4 separate regions of the Homo sapiens genome follow, and all the other regions are linked to region 3. The links are contacts of gene promoters, found by promoter capture Hi-C in blood cells and fetal thymus (Javierre and others, 2016). All regions are on one chromosome and are shown on one strand. Each heading gives the region's core, a stretch centred on a gene start or on the middle of the fragment in contact. The rest is flanking DNA. Distances are from core to core; before and after follow the strand shown.

The links. Contacts are between HindIII fragments. The CHiCAGO score rates a contact against its expected background, and 5 or more counts as called.
Region 1: a contact is called between a fragment that was not itself captured here and the fragment with the promoter of ALG3 in region 3, in 3 of 17 cell types (endothelial precursors, M2 macrophages and erythroblasts). The highest score is 7.5, in endothelial precursors.
Region 2: a contact is called between the fragment with the promoter of HTR3E here and the fragment with the promoter of ALG3 in region 3, in 9 of 17 cell types (M0 macrophages, endothelial precursors, M1 macrophages and 6 more). The highest score is 20.6, in M0 macrophages.
Region 4: a fragment that was not itself captured here is called in contact with the fragment with the promoter of ALG3 in region 3 in 1 of 17 cell types (M1 macrophages); the score reaches 6.9 in M1 macrophages.

Annotation. Positions count from the first base shown.
Region 1 is chr3:184,011,305-184,016,315 of GRCh38, forward strand. It overlaps ABCC5 (ATP binding cassette subfamily C member 5), which reads right to left. Exons shown (of 30, transcript NM_005688.4): 2 at 2,960-3,143. The coding sequence starts at 3,088. ABCC5-AS1 (ABCC5 antisense RNA 1) reads left to right here. Exons shown (of 3, transcript NR_046570.1): 3 at 1-115. Among named protein-coding and RNA genes, the nearest start is that of ABCC5, 4.1 kb to the right of the region's middle. RefSeq lists an enhancer at 1-301. The HindIII fragment of the contact is 2,056 bases long and covers 264-2,319 here.
Region 2 is chr3:184,093,990-184,098,702 of GRCh38, forward strand. HTR3E (5-hydroxytryptamine receptor 3E) reads left to right here and starts at 3,075. Exons shown (of 9, transcript NM_001256613.2): 1 at 3,075-3,607. The coding sequence starts at 3,541. HTR3E-AS1 (HTR3E antisense RNA 1) reads right to left here. Exons shown (of 3, transcript NR_133658.1): 3 at 1,129-1,361. The HindIII fragment of the contact is 4,461 bases long and covers 2,802-4,713 here.
Region 3 is chr3:184,247,129-184,251,605 of GRCh38, forward strand. It overlaps ALG3 (ALG3 alpha-1,3- mannosyltransferase), which reads right to left and starts at 1,834. Exons shown (of 9, transcript NM_005787.6): 1 at 1,617-1,834. The coding sequence starts at 1,812. EEF1AKMT4-ECE2 (EEF1AKMT4-ECE2 readthrough) reads left to right here and starts at 2,544. Exons shown (of 19, transcript NM_014693.4): 1 at 2,544-2,762. The coding sequence starts at 2,567. It overlaps EEF1AKMT4 (EEF1A lysine methyltransferase 4), which reads left to right and starts at 2,544. Exons shown (of 3, transcript NM_032331.4): 1 at 2,544-2,762. The coding sequence starts at 2,567. RefSeq lists enhancers at 415-1,158, 1,159-1,902, 2,101-2,150, 2,231-2,290, 2,321-2,430. The HindIII fragment of the contact is 5,512 bases long and covers 1-4,477 here.
Region 4 is chr3:184,057,464-184,062,178 of GRCh38, forward strand. HTR3C (5-hydroxytryptamine receptor 3C) reads left to right here. Exons shown (of 9, transcript NM_130770.3): 6 at 964-1,124; 7 at 1,973-2,177; 8 at 2,365-2,580; 9 at 2,687-3,210. The coding sequence ends at 2,889. Among named protein-coding and RNA genes, the nearest start is that of HTR3C, 6.8 kb to the left of the region's middle. The HindIII fragment of the contact is 2,967 bases long and covers 630-3,596 here.

The DNA of each region.
Region 1 (5,011 bases), core at 42-2,541, 240 kb before region 3:
AATCTACTCTCAAACATCGTAGCCATTAGGGAACTGCAAATTAAAACCACAATCAGATACCAGGCACATCTATAGGAATGGCTAAAATAAACATTATAACATTGAGTACTGGCAACAATGTGGAAAAACTGGATCATTGCTGGTGGGAATGTAAAATGGCACAGACACTCTGGGAAAGAGTACTGCAGTTTCTTACAAACTAAATATGCACTTACCATATGACCCAGCAAGCGCAGTCCTGGGCATTAATCCAGAGAAATAAAAGCTTATGTTCACACAAAATCCTGTAACTGAAGGTTCAGAGCACCTTTATGTATAATTGCCATTAACTGGAAATGACCCATATGTCCTTTAACAAATGAATGGTTAAAGAAGCTATGGTACATCTATAACACGGAATGCTACTCAGCAATACAAAGGAAAGAACTATTGATGCACACAACAAAATTAGATGGCTATCAAGGGAGTTCAGCTGAGTGAAAAAAGCAATCTCGAAAGGTTATATACTATATGATTCAATGTATATAGCATTCTTAAAATGACAAAATTACAGAAATGGAGAAAAGATTAGCAGTTGCCAGAGACTGGGGTTGAGGGGACATGACTGTGGCTATAAAAGGGTAACGAGAGATCCTTGTGATGGAACCTTTGCATCCTGACTGTGGAAGCGGTCACACAAATTTACACCTTTAAAAAATGCATAGAACACAACACACACACACACACACACACACACACACACAAATGAGTGCATATAAAACTGGTGAAATCCTAAAGTCAATGGATTGTATCAATGTCAATCATTATCCTGTTGTGATACTGGACTATAGTTATGCAAGATGTTACCACTGGGGGAAACTGGATGAAGAATATATAGGATCTCTATATTATTTTTTATAATTGCATGTAAATCTACAGTTAGCTCAAAATAAAAAGGTTTTTTTTTTTAATCTCATTAACTTCCAATAGTTCCCTAATGCCCACAGTGAAATATTTCTTAGCATGGCATGCAGAATTTCACCCGACCTATAATCTCTTTACACATCCTATGCCCTGAACAACTAGTTCTAAGAGCTAACATTTATTGAGCACTGGCCATGTGCCAGGTACCATTTTAAATATTTTATATGTATTATCTCATTTACTCCTCAGTGATCCCATGAGTCAGGTACTACTGTCAACCCCATTTTATATACAAATGACGTAAGTAGCTTATCCAAAGTCCCAATATGTCACACGCTCTTTCCATACCTTTGGGTCTGTACTTGTACCGCCTAAAAAGCCTCCCCACCTAATCACCCTTTAAGGCCCTGCCCCAATGTTACCTTCTGACTTTTTCCAGACTTAACTGTTACACTAAATGTGTCTAGCACTCAGATGTAATGGATAGATGTTTAATCAACATAAGGTCTAGACAAAAGGACATGAGGAAGTTATAAAACTGGCACCACGAGAAGCATTTGACACTGATTACATTAAGCCTGTTTCTCTGAAGTTAAACCTGAATGGAAAAGCATTCTATAATACACAGTAGGGTACAGAAAAGACTCATTAGCAAGAAAATGTTCATTAATAAAGCAATGGCTTTAACACAACCAAAGAGGGAAAGGTAGTATCAGGCTAAGGAAAGGCCAGTGTCAGCTGCAAAGTCCATTATCTTTCTCAAATTTTCACATAACAAATACACCAACAAAAACCTCAACTTCCTAAACCTAGTCCATTCTGCCTTATTAGGTACTTTTGTAAGAAAAGGTATAATGCTTTTTTTCCTCAGGAAAAAGAATATTTTCTCGAGGTAAAAACGCATCTTCATTATTTCCCTTGGAGGAAATTAGATTATTATCTAAAGACTGCTTAACTTATGAATTCGCTTGAAAAACATACTGATAATCCCACAACTATCTAGAATTGTTCTGAAATCTGAGTCTCTCCAAAGGATTCACATTTTATTTTATTTTTTATTTTTTTGGAGACGGAGTCTCACTCTGTTGCCCAGGCTGGAGTGCAGTGGCGTGATCTTGGCTCACTGCAACCTCTGCCTCCTGGATTCAAGCAATTCTCCTGCCTCCCTCCTGAGTAGCTGGGAGTACAGGTGCCCACCACCACACCTCACTAATTTTTGTATTTTTAGCAGAGACAGGGTTTCACCGTGTTGGCCAGGCTGGTCTCAAACTCCTGACCTCAAGTGACCCACCCACCTCAACCTCCCAAAGTGCTGGGATTACAAGCATGAGCCACTGTGCCTGGCCAGGTTCACATTTTAAACACACATGACAGAAAGTAGAAGAAAACACCAATTTTGTTTAGGTACATGAATGAAGCTTAATTGGCTTTATATTCCCTGTCATTGACCCCATGACCCCCTCCCCCTCAATAAGTTGTCTTCTGTTAAGTATAGCCTTTTCAGAAGGCACCAACATAGAATAAAAGTGAAAAAGAGGAGAATGCTCAGAACAGACCGGGTGAGAGGGTGACAGCCAGCCTCTCTTCCACTTATTGAGTGCTTACTATGGACCAGAGACTTATCAATAACCATAAATTCTTAACAGTAACCTAAAGCCAATAAAGAAAAACACATTTTTTTTTGAGACTGAGTCTCGCTCTATCGCCCAGGCTGGAGTGCAGTGGCATGATCCCAGCTCACTGCAACCTCCGCCTCTTGGGTTCAAGCGATTCTCGTGCCTCAGCCTCGCAAGTATCTGGGATTATAGGCGCCCGCCACCACGCCTGGCTAATTTTTGTACTTTTAGTAGAGACAGGTTTTCACCATGTTGGTCAGGCTGGTCTCGAACTCCTGACCTCAGATGATCCACCCGCCTCAGCCTCCCAAAGTGCTGGGTTTATAGGCGTGAGCCACCGCGCCCGGCCAAAAAATAAGTTTCTAAATTACCCATTATACGAAAAAAGATGTGTTTTAGTACAACAAGCAGGTAAGAGACTCTTAGGAAAGGAAACTGACCGGTCGAGTTCTCCTGAACTTGGAATCTTCACGGTCTCTGTGCGTCCCAGAAGTGCTGGTTCTCTCCCTCACACTTCTATACCCAGGACTGGGGATGATATACTCTTTTCCTATGTCGATATCCTTCATCTTCTCTGAGTGGAGGTTCCAGGGCTCACAGACTGTTAGTTTCACATCAGAATTCCTGAAATTAAAAATTCATCAAGAAATAGATTATTTCCTAAACAGTACTTAACCATAAGCTCAAGTGCCTTAAAAATAGGAAAAAAAAAAAAAAGGCAAAAGTACTAAAGCTTTCTACTGTTATAGCTACAAAAATTAATTTTCAAAAAAAGTTCAAAGATTTTGATTTCATTTTTTTAAAGAAAAAGATTCAGTATAAGAGAATCAAGAAAAATTACCTTCTCCCAACTCTAAGGGAAAAAAAATTAGAAACAGTAAACACACTAGTAAAGAGACACCCATTCTCTTCAACTAAGCTCAAATCCAGTGTATACAATAGAAAGGTTGGTTTTTTTTTTAAAGACTTTCTAGAAACAATTTCAGTTTGTCCCAAGTATTAAAAACTCCACAATTTTAAAGTGGACATCATTTCTTCTACTAAATTTTACTAAATAAAAACTTACCAAACACTTATTCTACCAATGATATATTCCATCTCTGCCTTTTTATAATTAACTAATGGGTTAGCTGGTGTTATTTTAAAGCTCCATGAAGTTATCCAGTTAAAACAATGTTATAACTTAACTTCAAACACAAATTCCCTGGGTACTGAAAATGTTCTAAAACTAGATAGTGGTAATGGTTGCACAATGCAGTGAATACATTGAAAAAAAACACACTGAATTTATACTTTAAAAGAGTGAATTTCATGTCATATAAATCCTATGGCAACAAAGCTGTTAGTAAAAAACAATAACAAAAACAAATTCTCCACCCTGTATTACTAAGTCTTACCTAGTTTTTACCTGAAACTCTATTCTAAACCACTGCTTGCCTGGCTAAGTCTAATCAATATGCTGTATCAACTCAGGTCACTTAAAAACAAAAAACACATACATACTTCTCCAAAATGTTTCCCCCCTCTAAGAAGGGTCACAGCCTCCCAGAGACAAGCTGAGAAAACACCTTTCATACTAGCCTCCAACGGAAATTAAAGACGTGTAGCCGTGTCGCCTTCTGGATTCCATAAATCCCTGGCTATCGCTGTGACTTAAAACTACTACTTCTGCAGCACAAAATTCTAACCATTATAATGCAATTTTTAAAGTGTCAGATAAAAAGAGAACACTTACTAATCCTCTGAATAAAAAGGACTAAATCTCCTATGCAAAGACAGGTTTCCAGTCCAAAGAAAGCTTGATTTCTTGCCTTTCAGAATTCTGGTTCAAGTACCCTAAGTTGATATAGCTGTTACTTATCTTTAAAAAAAAAAAAAAAGTCACCTTGTCCAATGACAAACTACACCATAAAGAACAGCGGCTCACCAAGCCAGAGTGCAGCAATCACGTCATTGAGACCTCATTAAGGCTAAACTATAAACAGACCTGGCATCTGCCAGTGTCCCCAGTGTTGAGCTGTAGCTGTAGATCAGAGTAACCTTCTTACGGGAATCACGAAATTCTAACCTTCCCCTTCAAGGGTTCCCTAGCTTAGCTGATTATCTGGAAGAGGAAAAGATTAGTACTACCTTTTTAAAAGGTGGGGGTTGGGGCGGTGAGCAGTTTGAAACAGAGGAGGTCACTGGAACTCATCCACAATATGAAATGCCACATCAAGAAGAACACGAACATAATCTTAATTATCTAAGCACCCATGATAACCAAAGATTCTTTCAACCACTTTTATTTCAAAGGATGAAGTAGAATCAGTGGAGCACAGGAGCAGAGAGAGGCAGGGACAAAACGACTTCCCTGTTATGACACAAATAATGACTGTTTTGTGCCTACAGTGACTGCTGTGGTAGACACTGCTAAACTATCCTAAGGGACTAAGTTATTCTATGTATGAAGGGTGTGGGGAACAGTGTTCCATTATCTCTAACACACTCAT
Region 2 (4,713 bases), core at 1,825-4,324, 150 kb before region 3:
TTGAATCCAGGAGGTGCGGGTTGCAGTGAGCCAAGATTGTGCCATTGCACTCCAGCCTGGGCGACAGAGTGAGACTCTGTCTCAAATAATAAAAAAAAAAAGGCTGGGCACAGTGGCTCACACCTGTAATCACCGCTACACAGGAGGCTGAGGCAGACGGATCACCTGAGGTTGGGAGTTCAAGGCCAGCCTGACCAACATGGAGAAACCCCATCTCTACTAAAAATACAAAAAATTATCCAGGCATGGTGGAGCATGCCTGTAATCCCAGCTACTCGGGAGGCTGAGGCAGGAGAATTGCTTGAACCTGGGAGGCGGAGCTTGTGGTGAGTGGAGATCGTGCCATTTCTCTCCAGCCTGGGCAACAAGAGTGAAACTACGTCTCAAAAAAAAAAAAAAAAAAAGAGACAGACATGTATAGCAATGGAATAGAATAGAGAACCCAGAAATAAACCGTCACACAAATGGCCAAATTATTTTTGCAAGAGTTCCAATGGGGAAAAGACAGACTTTTCAAGTAGTAGTATTGGGAAAACTGGATATCCATATGCAAAGAAATGAAGTTTGACCCTTACCTAAAACCATATACCAAAATTAACTCAAAATGGATAAAATATTTTACATGTAGGGCTGGACGCGGTGGCTCACTCCTGTAATCCCAGCACTTTGGGAGGCTGAGGCGGGCAGATCACCTGAGGTGGGGAGTTCGAGTCCAGCCTGACCAACATGGAGAAACCCCGTCTCTACTAAAAATACAGAATTAGCTGGGGGTAGTGGCACATGCCTGTAATCCCAGCTACTTGAGAGGCTAAGGCAGGAGAATCACTTGAACCCAGGAGGTGGAGGTTGCAGTGAGCTGAGATCATGCCATTGCACTCAGCCTGAGCAACAAGAGTGAAACTCCGTCTCAAAAAAAAAAAAGAAGATTTAAGTGTAGACCTAAAACAATAAAACTCCTAAAAGAACACATAGGGAAAAAGCTTCAAAACATTGGAGTTAGCAGTGATTTCTTGGATATGACACAAAGGCATAGGCAACAAAAGAAAAAATAGACAAATAGTACTTCATGAAAATATTAAACATCTATGAATCAAAAGACACTATTAACAGAGGAAAGAAGACAACCCACAAAATGGGAGAAAACATTTGCAAATTATATAGCTGATAAGGGATTAATATCCAAACTATACATAGAATTCCTGAAACTCAACAACAAAAAACAACTTGATTTAAAAATGGGTAAAAGGTTAGCCATAGTGGTTCATACCTGTAAATTCCAGTGATTTGGGAGGCTGAGGCAGGAGGATTGCTTGAGGCCAGGAGTTCAACACCAGCCTGGGCAGCATAGCAAGGCCCTGTCTCTAGAAACAATAAAAAAAAATTAGCCACACATGGTGGCATGCACCTGTAGTCCCAGCTACTTGGGAGGCTGAGGTGGCAGGATTGCTTGAGCCCTGGAGTTCAAGGCTACAGTGAGCTATGATCATACCACTGTACTCCAGCCTGGGAGACAGTGAGACCCTGTCTCTAAAAAAAACAAAACAAAACAAAAAGCAAAACTCAGTGGACAGATTAGACACAGCTGAGGGCCGGGCACGGTGGCTCACGTCTGTAATCCCAGCATGGTGGCTCACAGTTGAGGGCCAGGCATGGTGGGAGACAGTGAAACCCTCTCTCTAAAAAACAAAAAAACAAAAAAACAAAACCAAAACTCAGTGGGCAGATTAGATGGACAGATTAGACACAGTTGAGGGTCAAGCACAGTGGCTCACTCCTGTAATCCCAGCACTTTGGAAGGCCGAGGTGGGCAGATCAGCTGAGGTGAGGAGTTCAAGACCAGCCTGGACAACATGGTGAAACCCTGTCTCTAATAAAAATACAAAAATTAGCTGGGTGTGGTGGCACAAGCCTGTAGTCCCAACTACTCAGGAGGCTGAGACAGGAGAATCGCTCAAATCAAGGAGGTGGAGGCTGTAGTGAGCCAAGATCACGCCACTGCACTCTAGCCTGGGCAACAGAATGAGACTCCATCTCAAAATAAAATAAAATATGGAAGGCATCCATACTTGCATTTTGCATTCTTCGTATGTAATCATATTGTCAAAGACAAATTATGTCATAATCTATTGTAAATAACACTTTTCCCCAGACCTACCATAAAGTTTCTGCAATGTATTGTCTTCCAGTTGCAATAAAAATTACTGAGTTTCATCAAAAATTAATTAATTAATTAATTAAAATAAACACAGTTGAGGAGAGAATTTTTTTCCTGGAAGCTAGATCTGAAGAAATCATTAGGGACAGAGATAAAGAGGTAGAAAATAGGAAAGAGAGGTGTGCTAGGCAGAATAACGGCCCCCAGAATTTGTCCACATCCTAATCTCTGGAACCTTAGGTTATATGGAAAAGGGGAGTTAAGGTTGCAGATGGAATTAAGGTTGTTAATTATCGGACTTTGAGATGGGGAGACTATCCTGGATTATCCAAATGGACACAATGCAATCACAAAGGCTCTTATAAGTGGAAGAAGGAGAGAGAAACAAATAAGAACCAGAGAGATGAGATGCCTTGTGAGAAACATTGGCCTGATGTTGCTGGTTTTGAAGATGGAGAAGTAAAAATAATGAACCAAGAAATACAGGCAGTTTAAAAGCTGGAAAAGGCCGGGTACAATGGCTCATGTCTATAATCCCAGCACTTTGGGAGATCAAGGTTGGAGGATCACTTGAGGCCAGGAGTTGGAGACAAGCCTAGGCAACAAAGCGAGACCTCATTTCTACTAAAAAAAAAAAAAATAGCCAAGCTTGGTGGCTCACACCTGTGAGGTCCCAGCTACTTGGGAGGCTGAGACGGAAAGATCCCTTGAGCCCAGGAGGTCAAGGCTGCAGTGAGTCGCGATTGCGCCACTGCACTCCAGCCTGGTCAACAGAGTGAAACCCTGTCTCAAAAAAAAAAAAATCTGGAAAAGGCAAGGAAATGGATTCTCCTCTAGAGCCTCCAGAGGGAATGCGGTCCTGCTGACACATTCATTTTAGCCCAGTGAGACCCATTTCAAACTTCTGGCCCACAGAACAGTAAAATAACAAATTGTGTTTATTTAAGCCACTGGGTTTGTGATTTGTTACAACAGCAATAAAAGGCATGTAAGATAGAAGGAAACCATTCAACACATGTCTAATAAGAAAAATAGAGGAAGTGAAACATTTATAAATGTCTGAGAATTTTCCAAAATTGAAGAGATGAGTCTTCAGACCAAGGGATCTCACCAAGATCTGCAAGTTGATCACGTATGAACTATCTATAACCATTTACGTTGCAGTGAAATACCTAAGACTAAGATAAAGTCTTAAAAGCAGACTGAACCTTAAGCATAGGCAAGAACAAGACAACCAGAACACTCTTTGAAGGAAGGTTACAAATGTCAGTGGTCAACCAATGCTATTAGTATTCAAAGTCAGACTCTAGGTGTGGCCTGTGCTGCTTTAATCTGGGCATTCCTGGGTCCCAGTACATGTTCAGAGAAGAACTTAGACAAAGAAGATGGAAGGAAGCTGGTTCCACAGGAAAAGATTTTCCTTCTACCTCCTTCTCGGTTTTCTGCTTCAAGGTAAGAAAGGAGCAATGATGGGGGAAGGCGGAAGAAGGAGGACCTCTCTCTAGTAGAACATCTAGGAACTTTTTTCAAATTTCCAACTCCTAGAGATTGTCTAAGATGGATAGAGTTCTTTCATAGCTACATTACTAAGATGCCCACATAGACTTTCCTTTTCTGAAAGACGGAAAATCCCCTTCCAGTTACATGCCAAACAAGAGCACTTTCATTTTCCTTCTCGAAAAATAGAGTTCAACACCAGCAAACTTTATCCTTTCACATATGGATATCCAGTTTTCCCAATACTACTTGAAAAGTCTGTCTTTTCTCCATTGGTACCCTACATGGAAGACAACCATCCACGATCGTCTTCTCTTGTATTTAGCTTCTATATCCATCCATCTTTCTATCCACAGGTGTAATTCTTTCTCTCTACAGGTATGAAACCCAAACCATTGTAGCAAAGTGCCCACCTCCTTTAGCCATAATTTCCCTGTCCATCTGCTGGATCCAAGGGCTCTAGGTTAGGTAAGGTGCCAGAAGGCAGCAGGTCAAGGGTGAAAGTAGAATGTGCTTCTCTTCCAGGGGGTCAGCATGGTAGAGAGACAAGAACATGGGATTTGGAGACAGGTGGACCTGGGTTTGAATCTTGGTGTCTCACGTTGCTAGTTTTATAAACTTGGATGCACTGCTTAACTTATCTGAGCTCTGGTTTCCTCATCTGTAAAACAGAACCTACCTTGCAGGGTTGTGAGGATTCAGTAAGAGAAGGAGGGAAGCACAGTGTCTGGCACTTGGTAAAAGTGCCAATAACTGTCATCTCTCCTCGTTAGATTATTCCATGACTTTGGATAAGGAGGCACAGGAGAGGACTGAACCAGAGGTGACTTTAAAGGCCAGCACAGGGAAGAGACACAAATTGTACACCTGGTCTAGGCAGTGTAAATGGTTATGAAAGCTCCTCTGGGCACTTGCACACAGGGGTTGACAAATGAATATTCACTGTTCTTAGAGTGGTTTAAGAATTTGCTGGAAAGCACTGTGACGTTGGGAATGGATAAGGCTCAATGTCCTTGGCACAGAGGTTATCAACCATCTCTCTCAGTCCAAGTTGTTGCTCC
Region 3 (4,477 bases), core at 584-3,083:
CCTGACCTCAGGTGATCTGCCCGCCTCGGGCTCCCAAAGTGCTAGAATTACAGGCATAAGCCACCGTGCCCAGCCAGGCTGGTCTTTAACTCCTGCCCCCAAGTGATCCGCCCACCTCAGCCTCCCAAAGTGCTGGGATTACAGGCATGAGCCACCGTGCCCAGTCTAACTGAATTTTTTTTTTTTTTGACACGGAGCTTGCTCTGTCACCCAGGCTGGAGTACAGTGGCGCAATCTCGGCTCACTGCAACCTCCACCTCCCGGGTTCAAGCAATTCTCCTGTCTCAACCTCCCGAGTAGCTGGGATTACAGGCATATGCCACCACGCCCAGCTAATTTTTGTATTTTTAGTAGAGACAGGATTTCATCATGTTGGCCAGGCTGGTCTCAAATTCCTGACCTCAGGAGATCCACCCGCCTAGGCCTACCAAAGTGCTGGGATTACAGGCGTGTGCCGCTGCGCCCAGCCTAGCTGGAGATTTTTAATAGAGGATCCTCTGTCCACAGCACTCCTTCCCCTCACCTTTTTCTTCTTTCCTTAAATAGCTAATTCCTACCTTCCAAGGGTGGCTCTATGAAGCCTTTGCTGACTCCTCCAACCTGGTTTAAGTGACTTCCTATGCCCTTTATGGTATCCTGTGTTACTACTACCATGATTATGATGCATTATAATTGCCTGCTAACTTACTGTCCAGGCCCGAGTTAGAAATGCATCCTTTTTCTTTTTTTTTTTTTGAGACGGAGTCTTGCTCTGTCGCCCAGGCTGGAGTGCAGTGGCGTGATCTCGGCTCACTGAAAGCTCTGCCTCCCGGGTTCACGCCATTCTCCTGCCTCAGCCTCCCGAGTAGCTGGGACTACAGGCGCCCGCCACCATGCCCGGCTAAATTCTTTTTTTTTTTTTTTTTTCAGTAGAGACGGGGTTTCACCGTGTTAGCCAGGATGGCCTCGATCTCCTGACCTCGTGATCCGCCCGCCTCGGCCTCCCAAAGTGCTGGGATTACAGGCGTGAGCCACCGCGCCCGGCAGAAATGCATCTCTTATTCACCACTGTACCTCTCTCTGGTAACCAGCATAATGCTAGGCATATAATAAGCACTAAATAAATATTTGTTGAATTAAGAGTCTTTAGCAAGAAAGCCAAGTGCCTTAAGCCTAGAGTATAGTTTCAGCCTGGAAAGGAGTAGCCAATAATGCCTAATGGACTCAAGTGGTCACAAGATGCCATCATTGAGAAGGGACGTTCAAAGATCACAGAACTGAACACATGGAAAAAGCTGAGATCCAGGAGGAGACCTGAGGTGTCCAAAGCCACAGAGAAAAGCAGCAGCAGCAGCAGTACAACAATTTTGGCTCAAATCTGACTTCTAAGCTGGTTTGCAGGCTGTAAGTTCAGTGCAGAAGGCCAATCTCTAGGGTATCCACCTCTGCCATGCGGGCAGATTAAGATCCGGTTTTCTGTAGAGCAGGCTTGGCGCTCAGGTAAGGGATATGGATGGGTTCGCAATTGACGAGTGAGTGGATACAGAGTCTGGTTTGGAGTTCCAGGTCTGAGATCCAGTTTGGGTCGCGGGTTCAGGTCTCCCTCCCTCCCCTCCCCTCCCCCTCGGCGCACTCACATGCCACCCTGTGAATGACCCAGAAGGTGATGCCCACCTCCGCCAGGCAGAGGCAGGCGGCCACCAGCAGCGTGTAGCGCGGCTCCCGCAGCAGCAGGCGCCGCTCTTGCCAGGCGCGCTGCAGCCATTGCTTGCAGAGTCCCTCTGCCTGGGCCGCGGAACCGGACCGGCCGCGTTTCCGCAGCCCAGCCGCCATCTTAACGGTGCGCCGCTTGTGTGGGCCCACCACCCCCGGAAACCCGAACCTTCGACACTTAGGTTCCGCTTCCCGTGCCTGGCGTCCCACCAGGCTAAGCGCCGATCCGAGTAGCCAGTCTTCATTTACTCCACTAAAATGTAATTTTTCTGCATTTGTCTCCTCTGATGCACTCCACGCTCCATAGGAGCAGGGACAATGTCTTACTCCTCAGTTTATACCCAGCCCTGGGTACACAGGCGCTAATTTAGAACGAATGTCCAGAAAAGCAACATTCCTGCCTACCTCCCCCACAACCGCTGAAGCCAGCATTCTCCTTCGCCTGCGCTGGGAACATCTGTGTTCATGCTGTCTCTCCAGGAGGGCAAAGCCCCTGTTCGCGCCCCTCCTGCCTGCCCTTCGAGCCTTCCGGATGCTGAGAAAAATGAACCTTTCACTAATTTTCAGATTTCCTGATAAAAGTCATTCATATTGAAAATATGAGAGGACGCAGTGATGAGCCCACGTGAGTCTGACACCTTGAGTGCGGCCCTAGGAAATGACTTGGCAGTACAGCCGGAGGATTCAGGGTCTGGACGATAGTTTTCCCAGCCGGAGGATTCTTCGAAGAGCGCTTAGTAAAGGACGGAAGTTCCACGTGTTTGTGTTGAGCAACTGCAGGTGGTGGGCGGAGACACCAGCGCCCCGCCTTCTGCATCCTGCCTTCCGTATTGGCTGAAGGGCCGGCGGCTCTGGCTGCCCGGCGGTTGAGAGCATGGCCTCTCCAGGGGCAGGTAGGGCGCCTCCGGAGTTACCGGAGCGGAACTGCGGGTACCGCGAAGTCGAGTACTGGGATCAGCGCTACCAAGGCGCAGCCGATTCTGCCCCCTACGATTGGTTCGGGGACTTCTCCTCCTTCCGTGCCCTCCTAGAGCCGGAGCTGCGGCCCGAGGACCGTATCCTTGTGCTAGGTGGGTAATCCCGGCGCGGCCCCGCCAGGTAGAGCTGGCAGGACCGGCGCCGCATGGGCTTGGCCTGGTCCGCTTTCCTCCCGCCTGTCTATCCCTCTTGGAGGACGCCTGCGTTGGGACGCGAGATCCAGCTCCTTCAGAGTCCCGGCTGTATTTAGTCAAGGCTAACAGGAGTAAGAGATTGTTGGTCCCGGGGCCCTCTGGAGAAAGACAGTCCCTCAGAGTTTGAGCGTTGGGGGTACCCAAGACCCTGTCCGGACCCTCGGGAGGCAGGCAGCCTTGGGGACCGGATTGCTCAGAGGACCGAGATCAAGTCCTAGCGCTAATTGACTTGTAAAACTTAGGACAAGTCATGAACCCGTTCTGAGCTTTAGATTCAGTTCTAGAAATGGTACTGCGAGTTCACATCGGAGGCGGCACGCGCAGGCACCTCGAGAATAATGCCCAGCGCTTTTCTTTTTGCCCCTGGGCACTGGGAGCCAGAGTCACCTAGAGAGAGTCCTGTCTGAAACTTGGTCCTATGCCTTAGAGAGTGAGAACAGCACCCTCTAGGGGTGGAGGGGAGATTGCCGCCCAGGGTGATACGATTCCCCAAAGGGAGACGTGCTGGAGGAAAGGTAGGGCTCTGGGGTGTTCGGCTGACCTCTTGAGGTTCTCTCCTAGTGTCAGCCTTGGAGGCGCTAGTAAAGTTTGAATGAGCAACAGATTTTCTTCCAATTGTCGTTTTTACTTTGCTCTTTGTAAAAGCCTTTGTATGTTTAAGTGAAGTCTTTAATAAATAAAAAAGGTATATGTAATATATATGTAAGGTATAAATAACAAATCTAATGTGTGTGTCTATTCCACTCAGTTTGAGAAATAGAACATTACTAGGGATAGAAAAAAAAGTATAATTTAGTGGTTAATAACTTGGCTGGGCGCGGTGGCTCACGCCATTAATCCCAGCACTTTGGGAGGCCAAGGCGGGCGGATCACCTGAGGTCGGGAGTTCGAGATCAGCCTGACCAACATGGAGAAACCCCATCTCTACTAAAAATACAAAAAATTAGTCGGGTGTGGTGGCGCATGCCTATAATCCCAACTACTTGGGAGGCTGAGGCAGGAAAATCGCTTGAACCAGGGAGGCGGAGGTTGTGGTGAGCCAAGATCATGCCATTGCACTCCAGCCTGTGCAAGAAGAGCAAAACTCTGTCTCAAAAAAAAAAAAAAAAAAAGAAAAGAACTTGGACTCTGGGCTGGCCTCATGATTCATGCTCATAATCCCAGCACTTTGGGAGGCCAAGGTGGAAGGATCACTTGATCGCAGGAGCTCAAGACCAGCCTGGGCAACATAGTGAGATCCCATCTCTACAAAAAATTTAGGCCAGAGCAGTGGCTTATGCTTGTAATCACAACACTTTGGGAGACCAAGGCGGGTGGATCATTTGAGGTCAGGAGTTCAAGACAAGCCTGGCCAACATGGTGAAACCCCGTCTCTACTAAAAATACAAAAATCAGCCAGGTGTGGTGGCACGTGCCTGTAATCCCAGGTACTTGGGAGGCTGAGGCAGGAGAATCACTTGAGCCCAGGAGGTGGAGGTTGCAGTGAGCTGAGATTGCACCACTCCACTCCAGCCTGGGTGACAGAGTAAGACCCTGTCTCAAAAAAAAAAAAAATTAAAACTTAGCTGGGCATGGTGGCCTGTGCCCATAGTCCGAGTTACTCAAGAGGCTGA
Region 4 (4,715 bases), core at 863-3,362, 190 kb before region 3:
GTGGCTCACGCCTGTAATCCCAGCACTTCGGGAGGCCGAGGTGGGCAGAACACGAGGTCAGGAGATCGAGACCATCCTGGCTAACACAGTGAAACCTCATATCTACTAAATATACAAAAAATTAGCCTGGCCTGGTGGTGGGCGCCTGTAGTCCCAGCTACTTGGGAAGCTGAGGCAGGAGAATGGCGTGAAACTCGGGAGGTGGAGGTTGCAGTGAGCCGAGACTGCACCACTGCACTCCAGCCTGGGCGACAGAGCGAGACTCCGTCTCAAAACAAAACAAAACAAAACAAAACAAAAAACAAAAACAAAAGCCTAATAAGCGCACATCACCCCAGATGCCGATTAAATTGTTCCAGGTGGGGCCCAGGTGATGCTAACGTGCAGACGGGGTTACGACCTGCTGCTTTACAAGCTGAGTGGCCCTTGTGCCAAATGAGGCCCAGCTGACTCTGAGCTGCTGCACACCTATAATTTTTAGCTCAAATCTTTTAACTCTAATAGCTAACACACTTAAAAACCGGTAAATTAATATAACCGAATGCCACCAGGTGTCATGTGGCAGATTTGGATAAACTAAAACCATCAAAATGGGCATGCCTATAATTATTAAAATATTGAGCTATTCAAGCTTGATTCCACTAAAACACCACCATACGACTGGGGGACTGAGAAGGAAAATAGGAATGACTCCAAAAGTTCTTGACTCACGTTTCAGTCATATCCAATATTCCCATAACGAACTTGACTCACTCTTGTTTTCAACAACAAAAGAAATTAATGCCGCTGCCCACACACATATGAATTGCTAGTCGGGTAACCCACTTCTGAGAAAACCAGGATACCTTGCTTTAAAAGGATAGAGGAAAATTTGGTTTAGAAGCTCAGTGGGGGAGGACTCCAATTTCGTGGGCGGGAGGCTTGGGAAAACGTCTGCAATGAACTGACCGGCCTCCCTTCCAGTGGACAGCATGCTGCTGGGCATGGACAAGGAGGTGTGGGAGATCACAGACACGTCTCGCAAAGTCATCCAAACCCAGGGGGAGTGGGAGCTCTTGGGCATCAACAAGGCCACCCCAAAGATGTCCATGGGCAACAACCTATATGACCAGATCATGTTTTATGTGAGTCCAGGGGCCCCTGTTTGACTTCTGATCCCAGCAGCTCTTTGATTGTCCTCTTGACCTATGGCTCTTTGGGAAGCAAAAAAGAAGCTCCAGGCCGGGTGCAGTGGCTCACACCTGTAATCCCAGTACTTTGGGAGGCCGAGGGAGGCGGATCATGAGGTCAGGAGTTCAGGACCAGCCTGGCCAACATGGTGAAACCCCGTCTCTAATTTAAAAAACACAAAAATTAGCTGGGTGTGGTGGCACATGCCTGTAGTCCCAGCTACTCGGGAGGTTGAGACAGGAGAATCACTTGAACCCAGGAGGCGGAGGCTGCAGTGAGCTGAGATAATGCCACTGCACTGCAGCCTGGGCAAGACAGAATAAGACTCCGTCTCAAAAAATAAAATAAAATAAAAATAAAGCTCCAGAGGGTTGGGCACCTGCTCCCCACTGCCCCATCTACCTAATTGCCCTGAAGCAGGATCCCCAAGGCCTCCCCCACTCCCCATTTGCCCACTCCTCATTCACCCACTCCTGCTCTGGAGAGGGCAGGAATGGCTGGACTGTAATAAGCCCTGCTGCTCAGAATGGATCAGCTCACCCCTACTGCTCAGAATGACTTAAAGGGCCCACTTGCACCTAAAATTCTACAGTCATTGTGTTCCTAGTAGGTTAAAAATGAATAAAAATTAGACAACAAATCAGAGGCCCCTATGTAGGCGAGCACAATTATATGCAAAAGTGTTACTTAAAAAGATCGTCCCCAGCAGCCTCACAGCACATTGGCAAAGATTAGGGGTCAGATATACAAATTGAGCCCTCTGACATCTATTTATTTGCCATCTTCTCCGGTCTCTCTCCAGGTGGCCATCAGGCGCAGGCCAAGCCTCTACATCATAAACCTGCTGGTGCCCAGTAGCTTTCTGGTTGCCATTGATGCCCTCAGCTTCTACCTGCCAGCAGAGAGCGAGAATCGTGCCCCATTCAAGATAACACTTCTGCTGGGCTACAACGTCTTCCTGCTCATGATGAATGACTTGCTCCCTGCCAGTGGCACCCCCCTCATCAGTATGGCTCCTCCCACTTTCAGGAGGAGAAAGGGCACCCGGGGCCAGGGAGGAGGGCCAGGAGAAATGGCCGCTGCTCCACTGAAGGAAGGAAGGGGCTGTGAAAGAAGATTGGATTTAGGAAAGAGGCGTGAGGAATGCTTAGAGATAAATTTGCCTGGTTTATTTATAATTTGCTCTGCCCTCAGGTGTCTACTTCGCCCTGTGCCTGTCCCTGATGGTGGTCAGCCTGCTGGAGACCGTCTTCATTACCTACCTGCTGCACGTGGCCACCACCCAGCCCCCACCCATGCCTAGGTGGCTTCACTCCCTGCTGCTCCACTGCACCAGCCCAGGGAGATGCTGTCCCACTGCGCCCCAGAAGGGAAATAAGGGCCTGGGTCTCACCCTCACCCACCTGCCTGGTGAGGGAAGCCAGCACTGTCCATACTCGCCCTTCACACTGGGCCCAGCACTCCTCTAATCCTGTCCCCTTCCCACTCCATGACTGAGCCTCTGTCCTCTCCACAGGCCCAAAGGAGCCGGGGGAGTTAGCAGGGAAGAAGCTGGGACCCAGAGAGACCGAGCCAGATGGGGGCTCAGGATGGACAAAGACCCAGCTAATGGAGCTGTGGGTGCAGTTCAGCCACGCGATGGACACCCTGCTCTTCCGCCTCTACCTGCTCTTCATGGCCTCCTCCATCCTTACTGTCATTGTCCTCTGGAACACCTAGGCAGACATCCCCCCTCTCTGGCAAACAACAGCTTGGAGTTTCTGCTGGTCTTGGGCCAGCCGGACTCATTTTCCTAATCTTAGCCACTTATCCCCAGTGACTACCATGTCCCCTTCTAAATTCCAAAGACTCCAACGCAGCACTAGCAAGCAGGTTCGGGACAGCCCTGGACGATTTCCCGACCGCTGCTCAGGCTGCTCATTCCTGCTCACCCTCAGTCTCCCTGAGCTACCACCTAACTCCTCACTCCCTGATCAATGGAAGTCCAGGTCAGTGGAGTCTCTCCTTGATTGATCACCCCAATAAACAACTTTCCAGGAAGCACTGGCTCTTCAGTTTGTTTGTTTGTTTGTTTGTTTGTTTGTTTATTGAGACAGAGTCTCACTCTGTCACCCACACTAGAGTGCAAATGATGCCATCTCAGCTCACTGCAACCTCCGCCTCCCAGGCATGATTCTCATGCCTCAGCTTCCCAAGTAGCTGGGATTACAGGTGCACACCACCACACCCAGGTAATTTTTGTATTTTTAGTAGAGACAGGGTTTTGCCATGTTGGCCAGGCTGGTCTGGAACTCCTGACCTTAAGTGTTCCGCCCACCTCGGCCTCCCAAAGTGTTGGGATTACAAGCGTGAGCCACCTCGCCCAGCCCTCTTCATTATATTTATTATAAGTCTACAAACTCTGCGGTGGAGAGTCCTCTTGCAGAAGCTTTGATACTTCCCCCTAAGCAGGTGTAATCTGATGTGATTTTAAGGGTTTTAGATACTTTCAGAGTTTTATAAGAATAAGAAGGCCAAGTCTTATTTGCAAGAAATTATTTCATTTGCAATAAAATATTTACAAATGCAAAATGTTCCTTTCAGCAACCATTTCTTTTTCACTTTCCTTTACCTCTCATTCCTGAAATTGCTCTTTGAAATAAATCATATCTTGTGTCATTCTTTTTTATTCTAACAGGTTTCTCTTACTTCACAACATCAAACAGAGCGGGCTTTCTAAATATGTGTGCTTGAGGCTGGGGGGTTCATGCCTGTAATCCCAGCACTTTGGGAGGCCGAGGAGAGAGGCTAGGAGTTTGAGACCAGCCTGGGCAACAAAGCGAGACCTTGTCTCTACAAAAATAATAATTAACTAATTAATTAATTAAAAATTAGCCAGGTGCAGTGGTACATGCCTGTAGTCCTAGCTACTCGAGGGACTAAGGTAGGAGGATCGCTTGAACCCAGTTCAAAGTTACAGGGAGCCACGATCGCACCCTTGCAATCCAGCTTGGGCAACAGAGCAAGAACCAGTCTCTTAAAAATAAAATGAAACGAAGAAAGGTTTTTTAAGTTCCCTGTTAATAGTAGTTCACAGCAGGGCTCGGTAGCTCACACCTGTAATCTTAGCACTTTGGGAGCCCAAGGTGGATGGATTGCAAGGTCAGGAGTTCGAGACCAGCCTGGCCAATATGGTGAAACCCCATCTCTACTAAAAATACAAAAGCTAGCTGGGCATGGTGGTGTGCACCCGTAGTCCCAGCTACTCGGGAGGCCGAGGCAGAAGAATTGATTGAACCTGGGAGGCAGAAGTTGCAGTGAGCCGAGATTGTGCCACTGCACTCCAGCCTGGGTGATAGAGCAAGACTCTGTCTCAAAAATAATAATAATAATATAGTAGTTCACACCTTCATCAACAGCTATAATCATGGGAGAATTCTAATAGCTAGCTGCAAGAAAGACCCTGAGGAGAAACAGAAATTGAAAGAGAAAGTCAAAAAACACCAGCGACAAATTTCTGGATGATATTTCAATTGGATAAACACATTTCAGGGATTTATTTGTTG